Regions from separate parts of the Homo sapiens genome. Here region 1 is linked to region 2. The links are contacts of gene promoters, found by promoter capture Hi-C in human tissues and cell types (Jung and others, 2019). All regions are on one chromosome and are shown on one strand. The core of a region is centred on a gene start or on the middle of the fragment in contact, and the rest is flanking DNA. Distances in the headings are between cores, read along the strand shown. Region 1 overlaps ABHD8 (abhydrolase domain containing 8). Region 2 holds the start of MAP1S (microtubule associated protein 1S).

Region 1 (7,311 bases), core at 264-2,763, 420 kb after region 2:
TAAACTCCAGCTGGGGGGAGGGGGTGTCTTCCGGCTGGTCCACATTTGCCACAATGTCCCCTTCTCCAGGAACATCCCCACACAAGACGCCACCACCTTCCCTGTGGACACCCTGTGGGGTAAGCCATAGCCAAGTCTTTCTCTCTGAGGATAGACTAGGGTGACCCAGGAGGGTAACTACCACAAAGGCACTGCTCAGACAAAACATGTCAGTGCACGGTGGCTCACACCTATAATCCCAGCACTTTGGGAGGCCGAAGCAGGAGGAAAATTTGAGGTCAGGAGTTCAAGACCAGCCTGGCCAACATGGTGAAACCCCATCTCTACAAAAAATACAAAAATTAGCTAGACATGGTGGCACCTGCCTATAATCCCAGCTACTCAGGAGGCTGAGGCAAGAGAATCGCTTGAACCCAGGAGGGGGAGGTTGCAGTAAGCCGAAATCCGGCCACTGCCCTCCAGCCTGGATGACAAAGCGAGACTGTCTCAAAAACACACACACACACACACACACACACACACACAAACAAAAAAATCTCAGTGCCGTGGCTCACTTGATCTGGCGCTCCCCAAACTGGAGTCTAAAACAGTTCTCCCAAGGCTCAGGGAGTGCCTGCTGCACGGTGCAGGGTTCTCATTGAGACAGCACCTGAACTGGCTGCTGTCCTCACTCACAGGACACACCATGCTGACCGGGGTGACCGACGGTATCTTCTGTTGCCTGCTGGGCACGCCCCCCAACGCCGTGGGGCCACTGGAGAGCGTCGAGTCCAGCGATGGCTACACCTTTGTAGAGGTCAAGCCCGGCCGCGTGCTGCGGGTGAAGCATGCAGGACCCGCCCCAGCCGCTGCCCCACCTCCACCATCATCCGCATCCTCGGATGCAGCCCAGGGGGACCTCTCCGGCTTGGTCCGCTGTCAGCGCCGGATCACCGTGTACCGCAATGGGCGGTTGCTGGTGGAAAACCTGGGCCGAGCCCCTCGAGCCGACCTCCTACACGGGCAGAATGGCTCTGGGGAGCCGCCGGCCGCCCTGGAGGTGGAGCTGGCAGATCCGGCGGGCAGCGATGGCCGCTTGGCCCCCGGCAGCGCAGGCAGCGGCAGCGGCAGTGGCAGTGGTGGGCGGCGGCGGCGAGCCAGGCGCCCCAAGAGGACCATCCATATTGACTGTGAGAAGCGCATCACTAGCTGCAAAGGCGCCCAGGCCGACGTGGTGCTCTTTTTCATCCATGGTGTCGGCGGTTCCCTGGCCATCTGGAAGGAGCAGCTGGACTTCTTTGTGCGCCTAGGCTATGAGGTGGTGGCTCCTGACCTGGCCGGCCACGGGGCCAGCTCTGCGCCCCAGGTGGCCGCAGCCTACACCTTCTATGCGCTGGCTGAGGACATGCGAGCAATCTTCAAGCGCTATGCCAAGAAGCGAAATGTGCTCATTGGCCATTCCTACGGGTAAGTGAACCCTGGCATGTGGGGTGGGGGTGAGGGATGGGGTCAGCAGGGACTACAGTCACAAAATACTGAGTTTTTGGCTGAGCCCCGTGGCTCACGCCTGTAATCCCAGCACTTTGGGAGGCCGAGGCAGGCGGATCACCTGAGGTTGGGAGTTCGGGAACAGTCTGGCCAAGGTGGTGAAACCCCGTCTCTACCAAAAATACAAAAATTAGCCAGACGTGGTGGCACGCGCCTGTAGTCCCAGCTACTCGGGAGGCTGAGGCAGAGGAATCACTTGAACCGAGGAGGTGGAGGTTGCAGTGAGCCGAGATTGTGTCACTGCACTCCAGCCTGGGCGACAGAGGGAGACTCTGAGATGCCACTGACACCTGTAATCCCAGTGCTTTCGGGGGCCAAGGCGGGAGGATATCTTGAGGCAAGGAGTTTGAGACCAGCCTGGGCAACATAGGGAGAACCCCCTAGCTCTACAAAAAGTACAAACATTAGCTAGGTGAGGAGGTGCACGCATATAGTTCCACCTACTTAAGGGCTGAGGCAGGAGATTGCTTGAGTCTGGGAGGTCGAGGCTGCAGTGAACTGTGATCACACCACTGCACTCCAGCCTGGGCAGCATGGCAAGAACCTGTCGCTCTTTAAAAAAGAAAAAAAAATCCGGGCGCGGTGGCTCACGCCTGTAATCCCAGCACTTTGGGAGGCTGAGGCGGGCGGATCACGAGGTCAGAAGATTGAGACCATCCTGGCTAACACGGTGAAACCCTGTCTCTACTAAAAATACAAAAAATTAGCTGGGTGTGGTGGTGGGCACCTATAGTCCCAGCTACTCGGGAGGCTGAGGCAGGAGAATGGCATGAGCACGGGAGACGGAGCTTGCAGTGAGCCAAGATCATATTGTGCCACTGCACTCCAGCCTGGGCGACAGAAGGAGACTCCGTCATGAAAAAAAAAAAAGGGGCCACCACGCGCGGTGGTGCACATTTGTAATCCCAGCACTTTGTGGATGGATCATTGGAGATGAGTTTGGACAACATGGCAAAACCTTATCTCCTAAAACAAAACAAAGCAAACAAAAATCCTAATTTTTCTCCTTGAAAAAAATCCCATTTTTCAATTTAATTTTTACATTTTTAAAATTTTTTTTTCTTTTAAATAGAGATGGCATCTCACTATGTTGCCCAAGATGTTCTTTAACTACTGGGCTCAAGTGATCCTTGCACCTCAGCCTCCCAAAGTGCTAGGACTACAGGTGTGAGTCATTGTGCTCAGCCTTAATTTTTTTTTTTTTTTTTTTTTTTGAGATGGAGTCTCACTCTGTCCCCCAGGCTGGAGTGCAGTGGCGTGATCCTGGCTCACTGCAAGCTCCACCTCCCAGGTTCATGCCATTCTCCTGCCTCAGCCTCCCTAGTAGCTGGGACTACAGGCACCCGCTACCATGCCTGGCTAATTTTTTGTCTTTTTAGTACAGACGGGGTTTCACCGTGTTAGCCAGGATGGTCTCGATCTCCTGACCTCGTGATTCGCCCTCCTCGGCCTCCCAAAGCGCTGGGATTACAGGCGTGAGCCAACGCACCAGGCCAATTTTCAAGTTCAAAAAAAAATTATATAGAGAATGGGGGGGGGGTCTCATTATGTTGCCCAGGCTGGTCTTGAACTCCTGGGCTCAAGCCATCCTCCCTCCTTGGCCTCCCGATGTGGTGGGGTAACAGGCATGAGCCGCTATACCAGGCTGAAAACTCCCATTAGCATATGTAATCAGACAGGGATTTCCGTCATCACTGATATTGTTTCACATTGTTCTAAAGCAGTGTTGCTCAGGCCAGGTGCAGTGGCTTACGCCTGTAATCCTAGCACTTTAGGAAGCCAAAGCAGGCAGATCACTTGAGGTCAGGAGTTCAACACCAGTTTGGCCAACATGGTGAAACCCCATCTCTACTAAAAGTACAAAAAATTAACCAGGCATGATGGTGTGTGCCTGTAATCCCAGCTACTCGGGGGTGTGAGGCAGGAGAATCACTTGAACCTGGGAGGCAGAGGTTGCAGTGAGCCAAGATCACACCACTGCACTCCAGCCTGAGCAACAGAGTGAGACTCTGCCCAAAAAAAAAAAAAAAAAAAAAAAAGCAGTGTTGTTCAATCCCAGCACTATCGTGTTTGGCCAGGTTATTTTTTTTCTGTGAGGGGCTATAGGATGTTTAGTAGCATCCCTGGCTTCTGCCCACTGGATGCAACTACACAATCTAGTGTTGATCATGACAGTCAAAAATGTCTTCAGTAGTTGCCAAGCGTGCCCTGGTGGGCAGAATTACCCCCAGCTGAGAACCACTGCCTTAGACTAAGTTAAAAAATCAACTGCCCTGGAGAACACTGTGCATTCAGGAAGCGCTCATCGGAATCCTGTAAATTCTAGGCATTTACAAAGGCATGGGTTACTGTAATTCACTCCTGCTTAAAGGGCAGGTAATACAACCTAAAACTTACCAAGAACCCCTCCATGGAAGGCTTGGTCCCCAGGGCTTGACCACTACCAAGTGGCCTCATTCTCTCCTTTATCCAGGAAGAAAGGCAAGATTGAACAGCCAGGCAAGTTGAGCACCACTGTTTTAGAGATTCTAGCCTATGCAATTAGACAAGAAAAAAAGGCCAGGCGTGGTGGCTCACACCTGTAATCCCAGCAATTTGGGAGGCCGAGGCGGGCGGATCAGGAGGTCAGGAGATCAAGACCATCCTGGCTAACACGGTGAAACCCCGTCTCTACTAAAAAATACAAAAAAAAATTAGCCAGGCATGGTGGCAGGCGCCTGTAGTCCCAGCTACTCAGGAGGCTGAGGCAGGAGAATGGCGTGCACCCAGGAGGTGGAGCTTGCAGTGAGCCGAGATTGTGCCACTGCACTCCAGCCTGGGTGACAGAGTGAGACTCCATCTCAAAAAAAAAAAAAAAGAAAAAAGAAAAATAAATAAGTGGCCAGGTGTGGTGGCTTACACCTATAATCCCAACACTTTGGGAAGCTGAGGTGGGAGGACTGCTATAGCTGAGGAGTTCAAGACCAACCTGGGCAACATAAGCAAGATCTCATCTCTACAAAAAACTAAAAAGTAAAAAAAAAAAAAAAAGAAAAGAAAACAAAGAAGTTACATAAGTATCTAAAAGAAAGGAATCTAGACTGAGAGGTAACAGCTCTTATTTGTTTATATTTCTTTATATAACATACTCAAAAGTTGATGCTTATGAGAAATGATTCCTCTAATTAAATGAGCACCCACCTGCTGGGCACAGTGGTTCACACCTGTAATCCCAGAACTTTTGGAGGCCGAGGCAGGCGGATCACAAGGTCAGGAGTTCAAGACCAGCCTGGCCAAAATGGTGAAACCCCGTCTCTAATAAAAATACAAAAAGTAGCTGGGTATGGTTGCAGGTGCCTATAATCCCAGCTACTTGGGAGGCTGAGGCAGGATAATCATTCGAACCCATGAGGTGGGGGTTGCAGTGAGCCGAGATCGCACCATTGCACTCCAGCCTGAGTGACAGAGCAAGACTCTGTCTCGAGAAAAAAACAAAAAAACAAAAAAAACACCCACCTACAATAGTTCCCATGACCCCATAACAGTGCTATTAGGTCAGCACATTTACAACTTCAGGAATGTGGAGGCTGAAGCTCAGAGAGGTGAAGCAACCTGCCCAAAGGCATACAGGAAGTCCCTGACACAATCAGGTCTGCCTGACTCCTGTCTGTATCCTTTCCTCATTACAGCAGGGGCTGGCAAACATTTCCTTAAAGGATCGGATAGCGAATATTTTAGGTTTGCAGGCCATACAGTCACTGTTGGAACTTCTGATAAAACTTTATTTAGGAAACATTTTTTGGCCAGGCACGGTGGCTCACGCCTCTAATCCCAGCACTTTGGGAGGCCAAGGTGGGCAGATCACCTGAGGTCGGGAGTTCAAGACCAGCCTGACTAACACGGTGAAACCCCGTCTCTACTAAAAATACAAAAATTAGCCGGGCATAATGGCAGATGCCTGTAATCCCAGCTACTCGGGAGGCTGAGACAGGAGAATCACTTGAACCCGGGAGGCGGAGGTTGCAGTGAGCCGAGATCGCGCCACTGTGCTCCAGCGTGGGCAACAGAGCAGGACTCCATCTCAAAAAAAAAAAAAAAAACCTTATTTAGGAAACATTTTTCAAATCTCCAAAAGTGTAAACTGTATTTAAAAAAGCAAATGACTAGCCCACAGGCCGTACATAGTTTGTTGACCCCTGCTTTTGTAGGAATGAGGAGCTCAGCTTTGGGGGCTTCTCAGGCCTTCCATCTTGTATAAGGAAGACAGATATGTCATGCCCAGAGGCAGGTGGCAGAACATCCTGAAAGGGAAGGGATAGTAGGAAACAGTGACCTCCCCTGGGCAGCCGGAAGCATTTGTTTAATCAGATTGCTTTCCTACCACTTGCTGATGAGTAATTCTTACCGCTTTTGGGTCATGGTGGCTTGAAGAATCTGATGAGGGCCGGGCACAGTGGCTCATATCTATAATCTTAACACTTTGGAAGGCCAAGGTGGAAGGATCACTTGAGCCCAGAAGTTCAAGACCAGCCTGGGCAACATAGTGAGACCCCCATCTCTACAAAAATTTTAAACAATTAAAATAAAAAGTCTGGTGAAACTTCTGGATCCAGATTCTCTCTTCAAAATAAGTTCCATCCTCAACACTCAAACTCACACTTTCACGGTATTTGAGAGGCCGCACTCATCCCTCACCCCTTCAGGTGTCCATGGACCCCAGGGGAAGAATCTTGGCTTCCAAGGACCTGCCTTCTGGGTAGGGGGAGGACATGAACCCCCTCACCAGGCCGGGTGTCACGGCTCACGCCTATAATCCCAGCACTTTGGGAGGTTAAGGCCAGAGGATCACTTGAGCCCAGGAGTTCAAGACCAGCCTGGGCAACATAAGGAGACCCTGTCTTTATAAAAAAATTTTTAAAAATTAGCTGAGCATGGTGGCACATGCCTGTAGTCCCAGCTATTCAGAAGGCTGAGGTGGGAGGATCTCTTGAGCCCAGGAAGTCAAGGCTGCAGGGAGCTATGATTACGCCACCGCACCACTCCAGCCTAGGCGACAGCGAAACCTTGTCTCAAAAACAAAAACAAAACAGGCCAGCCCAGTGGCTCATGCCTGTAATCCCCGCACTTTGGGAAGCCAAGGTGGGTGGATCACTTGAGGTCAGGAGTTCTCGACCAGCCTGAGCAACATGCTGAAACCCTGTGTCTACTAAAAAATACAAAAATTAGCCAGGTGTGGTGGTGCATGCCTGTACTCCCAGCTACTCGGGAGGCTGAGGAAGGAGAATCAGTTGAACCCAGGAGGCAGAGGTTGCAGTGAGCTGAGATTGCATCACTGTACTCCAACCTGGGCAACAGAATGAGACTCCATCTCAAAAACAAAAACAAACCAGGCCAGGCGCAGTGGCTCAGGCCTGTAATCCCAGCACTTTGGGAGGCCGAGGCGGATGGATCACTTGAGGTCAGGAATTTGAGACCAGCCCGACCAACATGGTGAAACCCCATCTCTACTAAAAATACAAAAAATTAGCCGGGCGCGGTGGCGGGCGCCTGTAGTCCCAGCTACTCGGGAGGCTGAGGCAGGAGAATGGCGTGAACCCGGGAAGCGGAGCTTGCAGTGAGCCGAGATTGCGCCACTGCAGTCCGCAGTCCGGCCTGGGCGACAGAGCGAGACTCCGTCTCAAAAAAAAAAAAAAAAAAAAAAAAAATTACCTGGGTGTGGTGGTGTGCGCCTGCAATCTCAGCTACTCGGGAGACTGAGGCAGGAGAATCGCTTGAACCTGGGAGGCAGAGGTTGCAGTGAGCCAA
Region 2 (6,844 bases), core at 2,717-5,216:
CTCCCGAGTAGCTGGGATTACAGGCACACGCCACCACGCCCCATTAATTTTTTCAATTTTTAGTAGAGACGGGGTTTTAACATGTGGGTCAGGCTGGTCTCAAACTCCTGACCTCAGGTGATCCGCCTGCCTCGGCCTCCCAAAGTGCTGGGATTACAGACTTGACCCACTGCACCCATCCGGCCACATTTATTTTTCAGACAGAGAGCCAGAGCTCGAGGAGGGCCAATGAGGGCGAACGTGGACGAGGGTACATCCGGAGCAAAGGTCCTGAGGCAGGACTCAGCTAGGGGTGGGGCAGCATAAGGGCCGGGGCTGAAGTAGGGCTGTTTCTGGGATCCTGACCCTGCTCTGTCCCCCAGGGCCCGTATGTGTTTTAAACATCAGTACTGTGAGAGGGGGGTGGCAAGGAGCCAGAGCCGGGGTGGGGGCCGGTGAGGGCCAACCCGGACCAGGGTACAGCACCAGCCAAGGCCCCTGAGGCAGGACTGAACTGTGAACAAGGCTGAGTCTTGAGAGGCAGAGACCCTCCAGTGTTGCCAGCCCTTATCACATTTAACTTTCTTTCCTTTCTTTCCTTCTTTTCCCTTTCTCTCTCTCTCGCCCTTATCACATTTAGCTTTCTCTTTCCTTTCTCTCTCTCTCTCCCTCCCTCTCCCCCTCCCTCCCTCCCTCCCTCTCTCTCTCTCTCTTTTTTGAGATGGAATCTCCCTCTATTGCCCAGGCTGAAGTGTAGTGGCACGATCTCAGCTCACTGCAACCTCTGCCTCCTGAGTTCAAGCAATTCTCCAACCTCAGTCTCCCAAGTAGCTGGGGTTATAGGCGCTTGCCACCACAACCAGCTAATTTTTGTATTTTTAGTAGAGATGGGGTGTCACCATACTGGTCAGGCTGGTCTCGAACTCCTGACCTCAGGTGATCCACCCACCTCAGCCTTCCAAAGTGCTGGGATTATAGGTGTGAGCCACCATGTCAGGCCTAAGTTTATTTTTTTGAGACAGGGTCTCGCTCTGTTGCCCAGGCTGAAGTGCAGTGGCACAATCTTAGCTCACTGCAGCCTCTGCCTCCTGGGTAAAAGCGATCCTCCCTCCTCGGGCTCCTGAGTAGCTGGGACTACAGGTGTGCACCACCAGGTCCAGCTCATTTTTGCATTTTCAGTAGGGACAGGGTTTCACCATGTTGCCCCAGCTGGTTTTGAACTCCTGACCTCAAAAAATCCTCCCACTTTGACCTCCCAAAGTGTTGGGATTACAGGCGAGAGCCACCCCACCCAGCCTTAGCACGCTTTTTGCCACACAGGGATATTGCCCCATTCAGGTGGGGAAATCAAGGCATAAAGAAGGGAAGTGGCCACGAAGTTCACACACAGCAGACAGGATTTCCAGCTCCACTTTCTGCCCCATGAAGTGTCAGGAAGCCACAAGGACCAACTGGGACAATGAGACTACAGACACTTCCTTCCTCTCCAGCAGCAGCCGGGAGGTGACTCAAGAGACCATCAGGAGCCGGGGGCGGCTGCAGGCAACACCCAAGCCCTGCCTGCCCGCCTGCTGCTCTGCTCACCCTGGGTCACCCTAGAAGGGAGCCTCGTGCTGAGTTGGGCCCTTCTTGATCTCACTCCTTTTCAGTTCCCTGCCTACTGTATACCCAGGCCTGTGGCTGTGAACCAGTATCAGTCCCTTCCTGCAAGGGGCCCACACTCCATCTTCCAGGGCCTGCTCAGTGCCCCTCCACCTTCCAGATGTTTTTTGTTTGTTTGTTTGTTCTGAGACAGAGTCCCTCCCACTCTGTCACTCAGGCAGGAGTGCAGTGGCGCAGTCTCAGCCCCACTGTAACCTCTGCCTCCTGGGTTCATGTGATCCTCCCACCTCAGCCTCCCGAGTAGCTGGGATTAGAGGCGCCTGCCACCATGCCGTTATTTTTGTATTCTTAGTAGAGACAGGGTTCCTCCACGTTGGCCAGGCTAGTCTCCAACTCCTGACCTCAAGTGATCCGCCCGCTGCGGCCTCCCAAAGTGCTGAGATCAGAGGCGTAAGCCACCGCGCCCGGTTCATTCTAGATGTTCTGTCCACTGCTGGGTCTTGACTGGGGCCCTTCCCTTCCACTGGACACACCAGTCATAGCAGTTTCTCATCAAAAAACCCCCTCCTCAGAGATCTCCCTGCCTCTTCCCCCTTCAATGCCAATTTCCTCATCTGTCAATCAGGGACAAAAACACCAGTTCCTGCACTGTGGGTTGCTGAGGACTGAGGGGGTTATCACTGGGTCACGGCTTGCATTTGAAAGGTCTCAACTGTATTATTACTGTTGTTATTTATAGCTGCATCCCACCCCCCATGCCTGGCACACGGCTGGCACTTCCCCAAATAACAAGAGGTAGGGAGCAGTCAGGGGGACCCCAGCCTCACCTTTCACAATGCTGGAGAAGGTGGCAGAGTGTCGGGACACAAAGACCTTGAGCTGTTCATCAAGGTTGCAGACGCCAGGATCGACATCCCAAGACCGGATGCCTGGTGGGAAGGAGGGATCAAGGCGGGAGTTCAGCCGGGCCCCCCAGCTCCCAGAATATTTCAATAATTAGCACCCCGTGGGTGGGGAGCGCCCCAGCCTCCTCCCTTCACTCACAGCTTGGAGACTCAGAAGTACCCAACACCTTCAGGTCTCGCTGCAGCTGAGCCAGGGGACCCAGAGCACACCTCATCATTTTACACACAAGATTCATCAGCAACAAAGCCTCCACCTCCTCCATCTCCACCTCCTCGCTGCTCCTATGCCCTGCCAGACCCGTTTCCACTCACCGCCCTTGCAACAGCTGTTTCCCCTGCCTGGAAGTCCATCCCCCTGCCGCCCCCACCTGTTCCTACTGGCCAGGGGGCCCTTCCCCCTCAGCACCTTCGGGTGCTAAGACTGACTGTCCTCTCAGTCCCTTGCAGCCTTCTCATCCTTCCTGACACCATGTGAGCTGGAAGCTTGTTCCATCTCCTCACTCGCTTTGGGTCCATCCCCAAACCAGACCTGTGTTGGCAGGGCTGAACCTGTCTATCATCCCGGCCATATCCCTGTGTCCACTGCCCAAAGGCCTGGCGCATAGCAGGTGCTCACTAAACACTCCTCAAGCACATGAACCGAGGTGCGTGTTCCTGTCCCATTTTACATGCAATGAAACGCCAGGTCCAGATGCTCCGAGGGATGGGGGATGAACACCCATCTCCACCCACGGGCGCATCACGCCCGCCAGTCCCACTGAGCCAAGTGGCTGCAGGTGAACCTGGCAGGTGCGCCTATGACTCACCTCCCTAGGTGCCAAATCCCCAGGGCAGGCCGCACCCGCCCACACCCCAATTAGCAGCTCCTTGTGAGGCAACAGAAAGCGGGCCCCGGGGCTCCAGGCCCAGCCTCCCCCATATCTGCTTCTCCCTCCGGGAGATCTCTATCTAAGCTGCTAAGACCTGGAGATCCAAAGCGACCCCAGGCCCTACCCCCGGGCAGGCCAGTCAGGCGGGAAGCGGAGCCGTGGTCCAACTGCAAGGGTCCCCAAGCCCAGGCCCGTGTCCCCTCCCCTATCTTCACCCGGAGTTGGGGCGGGGCAGCCCTGCCCAGCCCAGGCCCGGATGCCACTTTCTCCGCGGGCACCCACGGGCACCCCGCCTTTGCCCGCGTCGTGCGCCTAACGGTGAAGGGGACCCAGCCCCAGGCCCGCGACCCCCGCCCCGGAGCCCGGGTCCCGCCGCCGCCGCCGCCGCCGCCCCACCCCGCCGGCCCCGGGCCCAGACGCGCGAACGGGCCCGCCTCCCGGGCTCCCGCGGGCCCCCAGGCCAGCCCGACCTCTTTCGAGCTCCTCCAGGACGTAGGTGAGGAGCCCCGGGCTCCCGAACTCGCTGCCCACCACGAGGAGCAGTGAGCTCGGAGCCGCGGCAGCCCCAGATCCAGCCACCGCCGCCATCTTCGGGCCGCCCCGGCGTTCTCGGCGCCCGCCCCGCAGGCCCCGCCTCTTAAAGGGGCCGCACCGGAAGGGCTGAAGACCCCGCCCGGAACCACCGCATCCCCGCCCCTTTTTGTCGACCACTTACAGGCCCTTTGAGGTCGTGGAGAGCAGGGGATGCGGGCGTTAAAGGGGTTGGCCGACTCCTGGGTGTCCGCTTGGGAGCCGCCTCTCCCAAGTGACCATTCATTCATTTTTTTTTTCATTGAACAAGCTTTGATTGCGTGCCTGCTGCATGTAGGTCAGAACTCCTGCCCTCCAGGAACTCACATCACATGACAGTAGGCCGCATCAGAACCCGGTGCCTATGGATGCTCCCAGCTCTCTAGGTCAGGGCTTGAACAGAGAAAAGAAATCTATCTTGTAGGTAGGGCTTTAAGGGATGTGTAGGAGTTTGCCTTGTGGGTGGTGGGGCAAGAGCTGGTGAGGCAGAAGTTTACAGCAGGTGCAAAGTTTTAGAGGTAAGAAAGTACATGTGTGTTTGGGACACAACCGGAGCACTCTGGGCCTGCCTGGAACAGGGCAACACTTATTCTGCACCTCCTGTGCGCCAGGTATTTTATTGCATTAGCTCATTACATACAAGCACAAAGCGATGAGTTTTGTGCTTGTATGTAGGCACAGATGAGTAGGCACAGTTACTGTGGTCACTTTCAGAGGAAAGAAGAGGAAACTGAGATTTGGAGGGATGAAGTCACCAGGCCTGTAAGTGGTAGAGCAGGTTTGAACCCAAGTGGGTCTTACTCTAGATCCAGCCTGTGCAAGGGACTGCCTGCGTTGCGCACATGGGTACCTCTCTCTCCCCAGATAATCCTCTTTAGGCTTTTCTTTCCTTTCCTCCCCTCTCTTCTCCTCTCCTCCCCTCCCCTCCTCTCCTCTTCTCCCCTCCCCTCCCCTTCTCTCCCCTCTCCTCTCCTCTCCTCCCCTCCCCTCCCTTCCTCTCCCTCCCCTCCCCTCCCCTCCTCTCCCCTCTCCTCTCCTCTCCTTTCCTTTTCTTGAGATGGAGTCTCATTCTGCCGCCCAGGCTGGAGTGCAATGGCACAATCTCAGCTCACTGCAACCTCTGCCTCCCGGGTTCAAGCGATTCCCTTGCCTCAGCCTCCCAAGTAGCGGGATTATAGGTGTCCGCCACCATGCCCTGCTAATTTTTGTATTTTAGTAGAGATGAGGTTTCTTTTCTTTTCTTTTCTTTTCTTTTCTTTTCTTTTCTTTTCTTTTCTTTTCTTTTAGAGACAGAGTCTCGCTCTGTCGCCCAGGCTGAAGGGTAGTGGCGCGATCTCGGCTCACTGCAAGCTCCACCTCCCAGGTTCATGCCATTCTCCTGCCTCAGCCTCCCGAGTAGCTGGGACTACAGGCGCCCGCCACTGTGCCCAGCTAATTTTTTGTATTTTCAGTAGAGACGGGGTTTCACCGTGGTCTCGATCTCCTGACCTCGTGATCTGCCTGCCTCGGCCTCCCAAAGTGCTGGGATTACAGGCGTGAGCCACCGTGCCCGGCAGAGATGGGGTTTCACCATGTTGGCCAGGCTGGTCTCGAACTCCTGACCTCAAGTGATCCTCCTGCCTTGGCCTCCCAAAGTGCTGGGATTACAGGCGTGAGCCGCCGCGCCTGGCCCCCTTTAGCCCTTTGACCCATAGGGGCTACTACTTGACAAATCATCTTGCTTGGAACTTCTGGACAGTGGTCCATGCCCAGGAAACATTGAACCTCCTTTCTCAGGAGTGAGCTCCCTGTCTCCGGGAGTATGCAAAGAAAAGCAGAACAGAAATGGGAAAGATCTGGGAAGGCGAATCAGCCTCCCGCTGCCGTTTATTATCTAGGTTGTTCAGCCCAACTTCCTCCCTGGCCAGTGTGTAACAGCCACTGGCCACGTGCCGTCTACCATTCTTGCACTCCACTTCCTCTCTCTCTTTTTGGTTCTGGCATCCTTCCTCTATCCTTGTCCCTCCCCCTTGGCTCCCTTCCCTGTGTCTCGCCTGCCTGTGATTTCTTCTGTTATTGCTGTGAGCAGTAATAGTAGTGGGAGTGTCTGTGTCGGGCACTATCTCCCCTATAAGGCTGGAAACTTTTGGAAGCCTGAGGCCTCTCTGGGGCCCTGGCCTTGTGCAACACAAGGCTTGGGCATCTGAGAAGGGATATGATAAAGTCTTTTGGAATGGGCTGAAAGGCCTATTTGTCCACTATTCCTTCCTTCCTTCCTTCCTTGTGTATTTATGGATGGGTCCAGGATTCGAACCCAGGAGCTTCTGAATGGAAGTCTATCCACTTCCTTCTGCCCACGCTGTGAATTATGATTGTTGGTACTAATTCTTTTTTTTCTTTCTTTTTTTTTTTTTTGAGACGGATTCTCACTCTGTCGCCCTTGCCAGAATCATTCTGAGAGAGAGAGAGAGAGTCTTGTTCTGTCAAGCAGGCTAGGTTGGAGCACAGTGGTGTAACCTCGGCTCACTGCAAGCTCCGCCTCCCGGGTTCAAGGGATTCTCCTGCCTCAGCCTCCTGAGTAGCTGGGATTACGGTACCCACCACCATGCCTGGCTAATTTTTGTATTTTTAGTAGAGACATGGGGTTTCACCATGTTGGCCAGGATGGTCTCGAACTCCTGACTTCAAGTAATCTGCCCCACTTGGCCTCCCAAAGTGCTGAGATTATAGGTATGGGCCACTGCACCGGCCTGTTGGTATTAATTCTATTACTAGTTGGTCTTACAGGGCCTGAAGAAATGTCTCCACTAGGGGGATCTGATTTGGGGATGAAGGTCTCCCCCATTAGGTTTTTGGGAGATAATGTCCTGAGTACTTGGAGCCATGAGGTCTTCCTGTCCCAAAGCATTTCCCAAGCTTGAGGACTCTGGTGTGGGACAT

Evidence for each region. The method cuts DNA at HindIII sites, captures the fragments that hold promoters and counts their contacts. A contact is called where the count stands out against the background at its distance.
Region 1: a contact is called between a fragment that was not itself captured here and the fragment with the promoter of MAP1S in region 2, in 1 of the 25 tissues and cell types used here (dorsolateral prefrontal cortex).

The regions. Positions count from the first base shown.
Region 1 is chr19:17,294,991-17,302,301 of GRCh38, reverse strand. ABHD8 (abhydrolase domain containing 8) reads left to right here. Exons shown (of 5, transcript NM_024527.5): 2 at 678-1,446. The coding sequence starts at 686. It also overlaps a transcript of MRPL34 not described here. Among named protein-coding and RNA genes, the nearest start is that of ABHD8, 4.8 kb to the left of the region's middle. RefSeq lists enhancers at 340-840, 841-1,341, 7,300-7,311. The HindIII fragment of the contact is 7,858 bases long and covers 1-5,442 here.
Region 2 is chr19:17,716,602-17,723,445 of GRCh38, reverse strand. It overlaps MAP1S (microtubule associated protein 1S), which reads right to left and starts at 3,966. Exons shown (of 7, transcript NM_018174.6): 1 at 3,826-3,966; 2 at 2,409-2,510. The coding sequence starts at 3,943. RefSeq lists enhancers at 2,775-2,924, 3,315-3,384, 5,435-5,936 and a silencer at 3,735-3,784. The HindIII fragment of the contact is 7,935 bases long and covers 3,584-6,844 here.